Regions from separate parts of the Homo sapiens genome. Here all the other regions are linked to region 2. Evidence: promoter capture Hi-C in 16 types of primary human blood cells and fetal thymus (Javierre and others, 2016). All regions are on one chromosome and are shown on one strand. The core of a region is centred on a gene start or on the middle of the fragment in contact, and the rest is flanking DNA. Distances in the headings are between cores, read along the strand shown.

Region 1 (4,312 bases), core at 171-2,670, 240 kb before region 2:
GGAGGCTGCCTGCCAGGCCGGGCAGCTAGCGCCTCGACCTTGGCGATGTCCAAGCAGTGGCCTGATGACAGCCACCTGTGTCGGATGCTTAGGACTCCCAAGGGAGGACTGCATGACCCATCTGTAAGGGCCTTCTCTACCCACAAATGCACTCTAAGTGGCCTTTGATGCCTAGCTTGAGAAGAGTACTTCTGGGGGTCCATTAGGTTCCAAGTGGCTGTTGAATTCACCCATAATGAATTTTGAGGTTTCAGCTCTCAAGAGTGGGTGTTAGCAAAGAGACTGGATTATACAAAAAGATAGAGGTTTATTTAGCCACTGTGAAACTCCTTGTATTTGAACTACCATGGACCGCTCTCTTAATCTTCCCAATCTCTCTTTTTTGGTTGCTGGACCTCCAGTTTGTCAGTTTCACCTGCATTCCAGTAACCAAATCCAAAGGCATGTTCCAAGAACAGGCTCCACAGAGGGACCTGGAGAGACTGCAGGTTTGGCAGAGTCAACAAGATCTGTGCCCAGAGCTTTTCGAAGGCCGTTTCCTTACAGCCACATTAAGCAGAGTCCAAAAGAGAAATCCTTCACTACCCTCTGTCATTTGCCGGAATAGAGAGAACATAATAATCTAAAGGTCAGGAGGCAGAGAAAGAATCTTAACACACCTTGCTGTGTGTTTTAGGATGAATTAATCTTTGAACATCTAGTCAGAAAGCAGTCCATATACAGCTGGTAGTCAGCACGGACTGTGACATTTTAGAGCTGAAGGCACCTTAGATAGAGCTCATCTCTATCTAAGTCTAATTAGGTGGACTCTCATTCAGTCTCCTCAATGCACAGGTGAGGAAACTGAGGCCTGGGGTGGTCACAGGGCTGGTTGGTCATCACAGGCCCATGACTAAGGGTTGATCTCTTGACTGTATTTAGATCTAGCCAGTGCATGACTTATTTCACTCCAAGCTTAGTTTGCCCATTCTCAGTGTTTTAAGTTCTAGGGGAGTCCAGAGAGGTTAGGAGGACAGATTTTGGTGCCTGAGTGCCTGGATTTGAATCCCAGCCCTGCCTCTTACTGGCTGTACAACCTTGGGCAAGCTACTTAACTTCTCTGTGCCTCTGTTTCCTCACCTCTAAAACAGAAATAATAATGATACTTATGTTAGAAGATTGTTTTGAGAAGTGCATGGAGTTACTACATCTGAAGCATTTAGAACAGTACCTGGCACAGGGTAAGCACAATAGATTTGCTAGATATGATATTCTGTTGCCTTTTTGTACATTTTTCTTCATATCCACCACCCAATACTCTATCAAGAGCTAATTTTTCCCCCAGTCCCCTTCCCCCCACCCCCAAATTCATTTAACATATTCCAGATTTCATTTTAACACAGACAGCTGCAAGGGGTTTCCAAGTCACGTTGCATTTTATACCTTACTTATTTTTGTGATTCAGGTAATTTAGTTTCTATGTTAGTTCCCCCTTGCAGTTACATTCTTCTTAGGCTCTGAACCCTTTAAAATTATCGTTAAAAGCAGGCAGTGAGGGGTGGGAATCCCTCGAAATGGTAAAGTCCTGGATGATACCCGTGTCCATGGTGTCCTTCCAAATATGTATTCCCTCTCTTCAGCCCTCCTCCCAAGCGATGAGTGTGATGCAGCTTGATTCTAAATGGATGAACATTTTTAGATTAAGATTTTATGAGCCACTGTATTAAGTGCTTTTCGGAAGTTCAGGGATCATGTGTCAACTGCATTTAAGGAAGTTACTTAGTCATTCGAATAGGGGGAGCACCAGCAGCGCCTGCCTGGCCTGGCAGAAGCAAAAGTGTGTGACTGATCCGTGCTGGCAATCTAGCTGGTTCACTGGTTTATCTGTGTTTTTCCTGTTCTTTTCCAAAGCTTGAAATAAACCAGATGGCAAGTACAAGGGAATGGTCTTTTTCCTCTCATTTTAGTCAGGGTCGTTCACTTTTTTCCCTTTTTACTCTCACCTTCATTTCCTTTATCGCCTGCGTGGGTCTGACAAATAGGCACTCTCAGTGTGCCAGCCAATTCCCTTTTGATGAAAAGATGCCTGCCACTTTCATTTTTTGCAGGAATCCAGTCACCTTTGATTTTCTCTTCTGTTTTTACTTGTTTTCTAGATTGAACCAAAGATTATCACTTCATTAAATGGCACCTTCTCATGCTTTATTTTTCTTGAGTTGATTCTGAATTTCGGTTTTTGTTTAAGCTGTTCTAGAGATCAGCCATTTTAGAATAATAGTTTTCATTTCTTTGCTTGTGTATTAATATGGGCCCCTTTCTCTCTTTCTCACTCTCTTTTCTCAGTATTTTGGTGGATGAGCTTCTCATTTGCTGTTACTCGTTGCTTTAAGCATTTACGCCTTTTCCTGGTAATCTCCGGCAGGACCCATAACCTCTGTAGTGGTTCTCACTGCCCTTGTTCAGAGCTCCTGCCCCGAGCAGGAAATAATTTCTTTGGTCTTATGGGAGACAGGGGTAGAGTCTGTCTTATTTTTTGCCTAAAATCTGGCTCTTTTAAAAGCCCCAGGAGAGAGACATTTCCAATATAATTGAATTTTGTGTGGCAGAATTTCTACCATGACCTACAGCTTACAGTATTCCCATTTTTATTGCATTGTGAGTTTTGAGTACTCCATGACCAGTTTCAGAGTATAGATGATGTGGGGCATGAGTTGCTTTAGCCTTTCTGTTTCATCTTGGGCTAAGCTATCCCCAGGAACAGAGCAATGAGAAGTTCAGGGTGCCTCTTAAATGTGTCTGGTGTCAGGATTTTATAGCAGCTTTTCATGGTTCAGCCTTTTTGGCCAGTGCATGAGTAGGACATTTTTAAGCCCTGTGCTGCTGTTTCTTTGTTGATACCATACAGATGCTACATTATCTCCTTTCAGGATTTTCATATCTGCAGATTGATTTTTGTTGTCTTGTCCAGGGCATCATATTTTTGGATTGAATGTTTTCTGTTTGTAAAATGGTTGGTGTGGACAGACGATAAGCTCCACCATTACCCCTGAAGCTTGTGGACTGGGGCCATTTGGGTGAGGGGCTTGTTACACACCGACTCATTGTCTGATCTTTCACAATAAATAGCAGACAGGTGAAGAGCTTTTTAGAGAAGTGGAACGTTGGTACCCTTGGATTTGCCTGGTTTCTGATTTTCTTTTGTTGTCTTTAAGTGGAGGTTCATTAAGTTCAACAAATTAAGCATCTGGTGTGTGCCAGGAACACAGTTGACAAGATTAACAAATTAGTTTGGTTTGTTGCTTAAAAACTATTTTGTTTTAAAATTGTTTTTAATAGAAATTTTAAAATTTTTTAATTCAAATTTTAGTTTTTAAAAATAGGCAATACATTCACATGATGAAAGAAAATTTTTTAAAGGCACAAAAGGTTAACTAGTAAATACATCTGTGTGTACCCCTGACCCCTGATCCTCAGAGGCAACCAGTATTAGCGATTTCTTCATCCTCCAGAAGTGGTCCCTGAACTTCCAAGGGATTTTATACATCTGTAAGCAAATTCGTTAAACATATTCTGTACACCACCCCTTTTTGCAGAAATGGTAGCACACTGCATACATGCTATTTGGAACCTTGCCTTTTTCACTTAATATTTCTTGGCAGTGTGAAAAGAGCTTCCACGTCATTTTTTATGAAGGCCGTCTATTTTAGATATCTGTTTTCTGTTTCTAAGGATGCTAAAAAACAGTCTTATTTAGGCAGCAGCTTTGCTGGAGATCTTAAAGATCTTGTGAATATTTGGAGGCAAATATTTTTCTTTTCTGTGAGAGCCCGGGGGAGGTGCAGGGGAGCTTCTAAAGGTCAGCTGAGAAGGGAGAGCTGGGGCACTGGAGAGTGAGGAACGCATTGGTCCTTGGGCCCTTCTTCGCCTTGCCGTCTGTGCAGAATGTGCTAGCATTTCCAGGGAAAGTTTGCCGTTTGCTCTCTGTTCTCCAGAGAAGCTTCCTGGCCTCCCCAAGTCACATTTCCAGCATCTTTTTTCATTCTTTTTTTTTTTTTTTTTTTTTTTTGAGACAGAGTCTCACTTTTGTCTCCCAGGCTGGAGTGCAGTGGCGCAATCTTGGCTCGCTGCAACCTCTGCTTCGCGGGTTCAAACGATTTTCCTGCCTCAGCCTCTCAAGTAGCTGGGATTACAGGCACACGCCACCACCCCCAGCTAATTTTGTATTTTTGGTAGAGACAGGGTTTCACTATGCTGGTCTCAAACTCCTGACCTCAGGTGATCCTCTTGCCTCAGCCTCCCAAAGTGCTGGGATTACAGACGTGAGCCACCGTGC
Region 2 (4,521 bases), core at 1-2,500:
CTTGCGGCTGCTGAGGCTGCTGTTGCTGCTGCTGCTGCTGCTGCTGCTGCTGCTGCCGCCGCCGCTGCCCGTCGCTGGGGTCGGACGCGGGGACGGAGCTGGAGACCCAGCGCCCCGGAGCTGGAACCGGCCCTGGCCCGACGGTGGCGCCGGCCACCTTCCTCCAGAGCAGGCGGCTCATGGTTGGTGCAGGGACCCCCACGCTGGGAGTCAGAACACCTGGCTTTGGGCTCCAGCTTGGCTTCTTTTACTGGCTGGAAGACGTGGAGAGAGACACGTCCTGTCTCTGCTCTCCTGTCAGTGAAATGGGTTTGACCATGCCTGCCTTCCACCCCAAATCCTAAAGGAGACAGATGATATAAAGCGTTATTTTACCATATATGTAATAGGTGTATCCATAATCATCATTCCTTGAGCATTTACTGCGTCCCCAACACTGTGCCAGGCGCTTCAGTTGCATTTTCCGTTAAGCCTCAAAACTTGGGAAACGTCAATACCCCTCCTGGGGGAACCGGGGTCCACGCAACTTCGTCAGTGAACCCACGTGGGGAAGCCGAGGGCAGCGAGTAAGAGAGCAGTATCTGGAGTAGGGCGACGCGGTTTTGAACCCCGCTTCTGGCTCTCTCGAGCTGTGTGACCTTGGGCAAAGCTCCTTAGGCCCTGATATCCTATTCTGTAAAATGGGATTACGGATTCTGCCTGTCACACCGGGCTGCTGTCTGGGGGACACAGGGCGCCTATGTCGTGCGGCCCTGCTCTTGGCAAGCGCTCGGCAAATGGTGGCTGCCATTACCGCGACCGGCGCGGGCCTAGCGTCGAGAGGTGCCAGCGCCCGGATTCGAACCCGCAGGGTGGGCCGCCGTCCCCCGGGACCCACACCCACACCCGGACCACGGCCCACCCGGCCGAGAGCGTCCTGCAGGAGGAGTCGGCGGCCACCCCCGTGCGCCCCGCCGCCCGCCTGCGCCCGGCAGAGGCGCCGCGGTGCGCCCTGGGACTAGCCGCCGCCCTGCTCCGGGCCTCGCTCCCTGACTGGAGAGGGAGGGGCCGCGCCGTCGCTCAGCGACCCGGCCTCCCCGCCGCCGACCCCGCCGGAAACCTCGGTCCTCACGGTGCTTCCCGGTCTGCTGCTCCCCCGACCCCAGGCCCACGGCACGGCGTCCCCCTTCGCGCGGCCTACGCAGCCTCGGGGTAGCGTGTGGCCTCCACCCGGCCGGTCCGCTTCGCTGGCAGCCGCAACTTCCCGTCTGCACCCAGCTAGGTCCCGCGGCTACCCGAGAGGCAAGCGGGAGACTCCCAGCGCGACCAATAGGAGGGCCGCCAATGGAGCGGTCCGCCCGCGGGGGGAGAAGGGGGACTTCTGGGTGGGCTCTCCCTGCGGAACGCGCGAACCAAAGGCCAACCTCCCCTTCTCAAGGAGCAGGTGGATTGGTCCCGAGCTAGCTGGTGGGCGGAGGTGACGTTTTTATAAGTTGCTCAAGAGACGGTAACAACCGACGGGCCGCGTGGCCTAATGGATAAGGCGTCTGACTTCGGATCAGAAGATTGCAGGTTCGAGTCCTGCCGCGGTCGAAGGGAGGTTATGATTAACTTTTAGTTTATTCCTCCCTCAGGAACGAAGTATTGGGACAATGTGAACGTAGTCGCCGCCGATTCCCACCGCACTTCAAAGATGTGGGAACGCCAAGATCCGCGGAAGTAACCACGCCCAGCAAGTCCCTGCGAGATTGCCCGCCTACGTGTCTCAGCGGAGGCACATTTCTAAAATGTACCAGGTCTCTCGCACCCCGACGCAGGTGGAGGAAAGTGGAGAGGGAGGGGCATCCTGTACAGAAATCTCAATTTATACTCAATTGATGGTTGGCAAGAGTTGGGGCTCGCAGCCAAAGCGAGGCTCCCTCCCTCGCCCATCCGGTGCTGCCTCCTCGTCCAGAGCAATTCTGAGGGGTAAAAATGTTGCCTTCCGTTGAACCTGAATTTGCCCGCAGATGCTAGCCTCCGGCCCACAGCGCGGCTGGAGCTTGTCCCCTTCCCCAGCTGTTTCCAGTCTCCGCATCCGTCTTGTGTTGCTCCAGGTGCTTCAACAGCTCTCAGCGCTCGGTGGTTGGTGAACTGTGGTAAAGTGCACGCAGAATAAGGTCTACGTGATTAAGCACCGCCTGGGGGTTGGGGTCTGGAGGCCCAGCTGCACAGATGAAAGGGAGGCTCAGAGACGTTTGGGACCAACCGAGATCACACAGCTGATTAGGAATAAAATTCAGGTCAAGCTGAAAGTCGGCCGCCACCGTCCAGCGTGGATCCCAGGACACCGTGAACGGACTACAGAAGTTGACTTTCGCGTTTTTAAGGAGTGGGGTGCAGGGAAACAATCCTCCGCCGGCCCTGCGGGCTGATGCCGACCCTCACCTGCTCCCGCCACGTGGAGAGGTAGAGAGAAGCCCCGGGCCAAGCAGCATTGAGCCCTGGTCCCTTCTATTTAAATATGAAATATTTTGCATACACTTTTCTAGATGTACTTAATATACACAATGTTTTAATGTTTGTGATTTTTTTGTTTTGCCAAAAAAATACAATCAATCAGAAATTCATCTGTTTTTTTTTTTTTTTTCACATAACTGTTGACTTTTACAAAATACTGGAAGGAGAGGCTCTCAGCTTAAATCAGGGAGTCCCTGAATGGGGAAAACATTTTCATCTTGTTTCTTCTAACCGCCTACTGATACTTGGCATTTCCTCCAATTATGAGCATAGGCTGTCAGCCACAGTGGTATTAACAGTGCCTGTGACTTTGTCCCCTCCAGCAACCACAGATATTTTCATAACGCATTACAAGTGCTGCACATTTTTCAAAATTTGTTTGCACTTATCTGTACTTCAAAATAACAGGGGTTACTAGACTGCCACTAGATCCTGTTAGTTAATAAGTTTACCTATTTGTCCTAATATTTGAATACCTTTGGTGTCCTTTGTAATCCTTCATGTTTTATGTGCTTAAAAACACTATTCTTCCATATAACCAAAAACTGCCTGTACCCCTATTGAAATAAAAATTAATAAAACATATTTCACAGAAAAAAATTAAAAACAGAAACACTACTCTAGGCCAGGTTCAGTGGCTCACGCCTGTAATCCCAGCACTTTGGGAGGCTGAGGTGGATGGATTGCCTGAGCTCAGGAGTTGAAGACCAGTCTGGCCAACATGGCGAAACCCCATCTCTACCAAAAAAATACAAAACTTAGCCCGGCATGGTGGTGCACGCCTGTAATCCCAGCTACTTGGGAGGTTGAGGGAGGAGAACCTCTTGAACCCGGGGGGCAGAGTCTGCAGTGAGCCGAGATTGCACCATGGCACTCCAGTCTGGGCAGCAGAGTGAGACTCCATCTCCCCACTCCCCACCAAAACAACAACAACAACAAAAAAAAGAAAAAAAAGAAAGAAAGAAACACACTATTCTAAGAAGGTGTCTATGACACAAAAAAGCTAAGAACCCCTGGCCCAACTGTCCACAGGGGCTGCTGTTGCTGGGCCTGATTGGCCTCTCCTGAGATTCAGTCTCAGGAGATGTCCATCAAGATGCCTGCTCCTCCCATAGACTACTTGAGACTAGCCTAGTGCCCTGGTCCTGGAATTAGAATCTTCAACAAGGACAAAAACGGTTGATACTGATTCCTGCTGAGGGAGGGTACCTGGAGGCCTGCACCCTTCCTGCCAGGCTACACCCTGTTTCCAGGCCTTTCTGAACCCAGCTCCTCCACTTCCCCTGCCTCCTTTTCTAGGAACTCCCCCACGTCCTTCTAGAAAAGTCTGTCCTTGATAGTGGTTCCTGAGAAACAGTTACATTTTCCCACAATTCCCTGGACCTCTCCCCCCACAGAGCAAGAGGCAAAGTTCATTAGGACCCCTGTCCTCATCAAAACACTCCGTACTTTTTTTCTTCTTCTTCTTCTGAGACAGAGTCTTGCTCTGTGCCCAGGCTGGAGTGCAGAGGCGTGATCTCAGCTCACTGCAGCCTCCACCTCCCAGGTTCAAGCGATTCTCGTGCCTCAGCCTCCGGAGTAGCTGGGATTACAGGTGTGTGCCACCATGTGGATCTAATTTTTGTATTTTTAGTAGAGACTGGTTTCACCATGTTGGCCAGGCTGGTCTGGAACTCCTGGCCTCAAGTGATCCACCCGCCTTGGCCTCCCAGAGTTCTGGGATTACAGGCTTGAGTCACTGCGCTGGGCCAGAACACCCTGTACTTTCAAAGCATGTACCTCAGTTGTAACTAATGATGATTTTTTAAAAATCTCCCCCTTCCACTGCTGTAAATGCCCATAGGGACTGACCTTGTGTCTTATTTTGAGCTCAATTCCAGGACCTGCCTGGAGCTTGGTAATAACCGGCACTTGCTAGCTGCCAGGTGCTGTTCTAAGGGCTCACATATGTCACTTAAGTGAATCCTCACATCGACCCTTGGATAGAGGTACCGTTATCCCCTTTCACCCATGAGGAAACTAAGGCACAGAGAGGCGAAGCAG
Region 3 (3,875 bases), core at 774-3,273, 140 kb after region 2:
GAGCCCCAGAGCCCTAAAAGCCTGGCTCTGGGTTGGGCCCAATACTGTTGGCCTGGTGGTGCCTGGGATTGGGGTGGGAGGGGTGGGAGGTGGGCTTCAGGAACCACCCCCCCAGCACCCCTTCGCACCCCGCCCCCCACGCCACCCTGCACCCTCTCACGCTGCGGGCCCCTCCCAGGCCCTTCATAGGCATATGGGGCTGGGCCAAGCGGCTCTGCTGGGGGAGGGAGGCTGGGGCTCAGATCAGCTGAAATCAAAGCCACAGCTCCCTCCCCGCCACGCCGCACCCCTGCCGAGCGCCGCGCACCTTCTCCTTTGTCACAATGTTTTTCAATCCGGTGAAGCAAACTGTCCAATTAGAGCCAGGGTCTCCGGCTTCCATCTTTGCCGACGTTTAATTAACATGCTCCTCTTGGCAGCTGCTGACAAGTTCCAGAAACAGGTTGTAAAGGGTTTTTGTCTTTACCCAGCATGGAAAATGAGGGGTGTTACATCGCGGGTACATGAATAGGTTGCATTTCAGATCCCTCCTTCCCCTCCCCCCTGCACTGGTAAGAGGCATGCAGCGGTGTGTGTGTGTGTGTGTGTGTGTGTGTGTGTGTGTGTGTGTGTGTGTGTGTGTGAATTGCAAGGGGGCGGGGAGGGCGGAGTTGGAAGCTGAGAGACCTCCTCCCTTTTCCCTCACCCCTTCTTCCCAGGAGCCTTTGCTCCACAAAAGATCCGGATTCCAAGTCTTATTCTCCAACTGGCACACTTCTGCCTCACATCTCTTCTAGCCAGTAGCAGACTTCACCGTGTTAATTCCTACCCATGGGTCTGTGCCCATGCTGTTTCTTTGCCATCCTTCTGGTAAACTCCTATTCAGCCTCCAGAACCCTGCTCAGGTGGCCCTGCTTTGAGAAGCCAACTGGGTACAGACTTCCTGTCCAGCCACACCTGTCAGAGTTCAGCATGGATTCTGAGGGTCAGGTCTGTCTCCCAGCTAGACTGTGAGCCCCTGAGGGCAGGAAGGTGTATTACTCTGCCCAGGGTGGTGGTGAGCCTGGGAGATCTACCCTCCTGAAACCTTACCCCACTGTCCAGGGAAAAGAAGGCTGGCTTGGCAGAGAGAAAGAAGGGAAGGGATGGGGAGGAGGAGATGGGCCCAAAGGAGCCCTCCCTCCCTTCTCGCAGTCCTGCTGGAGTGCCCAGAGCAGGACCACATGGAGGGCACAACAGAGATGCCAGCTTTCTCAAGGGCTGAGTTTCTGGAGTAGCTGATGGAGGGGCCTTGAAGCAAGACCCCAGCCCAGAGCTGAGCCCTGCTGGGTGCCCCAGGCTGAAGGCAGGCTCTAGTACCCAAGTTCTGCCTGTTCAGCCTGCAATGACTTTCCTCGCAGTGTGGGTGGTACCCTTGGATGAAGGTAAGGGCTGGGGCAGAAGCAGGTCTCTTGGGTCCTTTTCTCCCTCAAACTGGCCCCATTGGAGCATTCACACCATTTTACAAAGGACAACAAGAATGTTTATTCCTGGAGGCTGCCACGCACACAACACAGAGAGGTCTGGGGGACCCAGGGAGCATAGGAGATGCTGGCCGAGGTGCAGGCACGGGGTAGAAGAGCCTCATAGGTGGTGACTGGCAGCTAAGTTGTCTCCTGGGAGAGCTCAGGTTCACCCACCAGGTCCCAGCCCCACTTTGAGCCTGTTTTTCTCCAATGTGGCCAAGACCCCAGGCAGAGGCAGAACTTCTGCAGCCAGAACCCGGCTTGGATGCCCACTTTGTAGCTTCTCCTTCTCCATTCTCAGTCAGACCCCCTGGGATGAAGGGGAGGGCAGGGGTGGAGGCACCTTGAGGCCAAGCCAGCAGGTGGGGGTGCTGCTTGCTCACTCTTGCATCCCTAGCTAGGTCAGCACCAGCTCCTCTGGGCCCCAGGACAGTCTGTGGAGCCTGCAGGGAGACAGCCAAGAGCAGCGGGTCACTGCCGGGTCCTGCTGTAGCCTCTCAGGCACCATTTTCTTTTCTGGATGGGGTGGACATTAAAGGCAACTGGGCATAGCCTCACCTTCCTCTTTCCTGGCACCCTAACATCCTCTCTTGCCACATCACTCAGGCCCCAGACCCAGCTATTGCCAAGCTCTGGCCTCCAAGGAAGTTAAATAACAATAATAAAAACAGTAACAATGACCAGCAAGGACCCCAGTTTCTCCACTTGCTAGTTGTGTGATCTTGAAGAACCTGAACTTCTCCGAGCCTTAGTTTGCTCATCTATTAAAATGAGGGCAGTAATTCTACTTGCCTTGTAGAGATCTTGGGAAGGTTAGATGTGAAAGCCATGAGCAAGGGCTTGGTGCATTCCACAGAGGAGGCACAGTGTTAGTTGACGGAAAGAAAGAGGGGAGGGTGGGTCTCATCTGAGCTGAGCAACTGAATACAACCAGACGTGTCAGCTTCATTTTTATAGATGAGGAAATCGAGGCCCAGTCTCTGGGGTGAAGAGATTCTCAAAGTCACACACCAGCAGGCACAGTCACAAAGCCAAGTGTGCCCCCAGGTCTCCTTCCATATTCCTTCCAGGCCCTTGTGCCTTCACCTGTTCCTGTGTCTGTCCTGGATGCACGTTGTCTGACTCTAAGAAGCTCCCCTGCCAACCCCATGTGCCCACTGCACCTCAGGCAGGAGGGGTGGAAGCCCTCATTTCTTGATGTTTGCTTTTTGCCTCTTTGCTAGTAACATCTGATTCTGAGAGCTGGGCCCCCACTGGGAGAACCTCCCTGTCATCCCCCAAGCCAAGCCCATGCTCACCTGCTCCTCACCTGCCCTGGGAGCCTAGGGTACCAAGGGTACCGAGGAAGCCATGGGTAGTGGGGACACCATGGGTACTGAGGGTACTGAGGGTCCTGAGGGCTTGAAGGTGGGGTCCTCAGGGATGTAGACAGTGCTGTTCCCTTCAGGCATCTACAGAGAGAGGATGCAACTCTGAGGGCCCTGTCCCAGTCCAGGCAAGGGTGTCCCTGGTGACTAGAACCTGGAGCTGCAAATGGTGTGTGGCGAGCGCCACCTTGTGATCGCCGTGCGGATCACATGCCACGGAGAGCAGGGTGGTCCTTCAACACAGGAGTCCTGCCCCTACCCTATATTAGGCACTGTCCTGGGTGCTGAGGCATGGCAAGGAGGAGACAGTGTCCTTGCCCCATGAGAGCAATGGTGAGGCATTGCAGTGAAATACCCAGTGACAGTAAGAGTTGCAAATGCACACAACAGGCTTATAACCCAGCCTGGGGGATGCTGAGAAGTTGTGCTGAACCCACTTTTAAAAGATGAATTGGAGTAAGGGGCAGAGGCGGTAAAAGGTAGTATGGCAAGCTCTGTAAACTGCAGACAGGTCCGAAAATGGGGTGGGGAAGGTGCAGGGAAGGCCAGAAGTGGGTAGAGAGGTGGAGGGCAGGCAGGGCAGGTCAGCCCTGCCCTTGCCCCATCTGTGGTCCTGGGGAACACTGGTCCAATCCCCATCCTCTGAGAAGCCACCTCACTCCCAAGGTAAACCACTCAGGGCCTCAGGGACTGCCTGATAGTGTTCCTTCCATTGGCACAGAATTTTGTTATTCCCAACCAGGTACAGCCAGCCCTCCATACCCATGGGTTTTGTATCAGCAGGTTACACCTATCACAGGTTGAAAATATTTAGAAAAAGCAACAACAAAAAATGACAATATAACAATAAAAATAATAAAAACAAAAAACAATACAGCATTTACATTGTGTTAGGTATTACAAGTAATCTACAGATTACTTAAAATATGTGGGAGGATACATGTAGGCTTTTATGCAAATACTATGCCATTTTATATCAGGGACTTGAGCATCCCCGCAAGAGATCCTGTAACCAATCCCCTGA

What was found. Contacts are between HindIII fragments. The CHiCAGO score rates a contact against its expected background, and 5 or more counts as called.
Region 1: a contact is called between a fragment that was not itself captured here and the fragment with the promoter of POLG in region 2, in 1 of 17 cell types (naive CD8 T cells). The highest score is 5.1, in naive CD8 T cells.
Region 3: a fragment that was not itself captured here is called in contact with the fragment with the promoter of POLG in region 2 in 1 of 17 cell types (M2 macrophages); the score reaches 5.2 in M2 macrophages.

What each region holds. Positions count from the first base shown.
Region 1 is chr15:89,089,153-89,093,464 of GRCh38, forward strand. The region is part of intron 1 of ABHD2 (abhydrolase domain containing 2, acylglycerol lipase); the gene reads left to right. LOC124903573 reads right to left here. Exons shown (of 7, transcript XM_047433432.1): 3 at 3,024-3,089; 4 at 1,983-2,131. Among named protein-coding and RNA genes, the nearest start is that of ABHD2, 2.9 kb to the left of the region's middle. The HindIII fragment of the contact is 936 bases long and covers 953-1,888 here.
Region 2 is chr15:89,333,574-89,338,094 of GRCh38, forward strand. It overlaps POLG (DNA polymerase gamma, catalytic subunit), which reads right to left and starts at 1,251. Exons shown (of 23, transcript NM_002693.3): 1 at 1,100-1,251; 2 at 1-340. The coding sequence starts at 181. It overlaps POLGARF (POLG alternative reading frame), which reads right to left and starts at 236. Exons shown (of 2, transcript NM_001430120.1): 1 at 1-236. The coding sequence starts at 236. It overlaps POLG-DT (POLG divergent transcript), which reads left to right and starts at 914. Exons shown (of 2, transcript NR_186332.1): 1 at 914-1,281; 2 at 1,614-2,588. It overlaps TRR-TCG1-1 (tRNA-Arg (anticodon TCG) 1-1), which reads left to right and starts at 1,500; the gene lies at 1,500-1,572. RefSeq lists enhancers at 519-1,020, 1,890-1,989, 2,000-2,069, 2,410-2,459 and silencers at 710-1,309, 3,267-3,436. The HindIII fragment of the contact is 8,583 bases long and covers 1-4,521 here.
Region 3 is chr15:89,469,929-89,473,803 of GRCh38, forward strand. RHCG (Rh family C glycoprotein) reads right to left here. Exons shown (of 11, transcript NM_016321.3): 10 at 2,783-2,935; 11 at 1,479-1,927. The coding sequence ends at 2,807. Among named protein-coding and RNA genes, the nearest start is that of RHCG, 25 kb to the right of the region's middle. The HindIII fragment of the contact is 7,550 bases long and covers 1-3,875 here.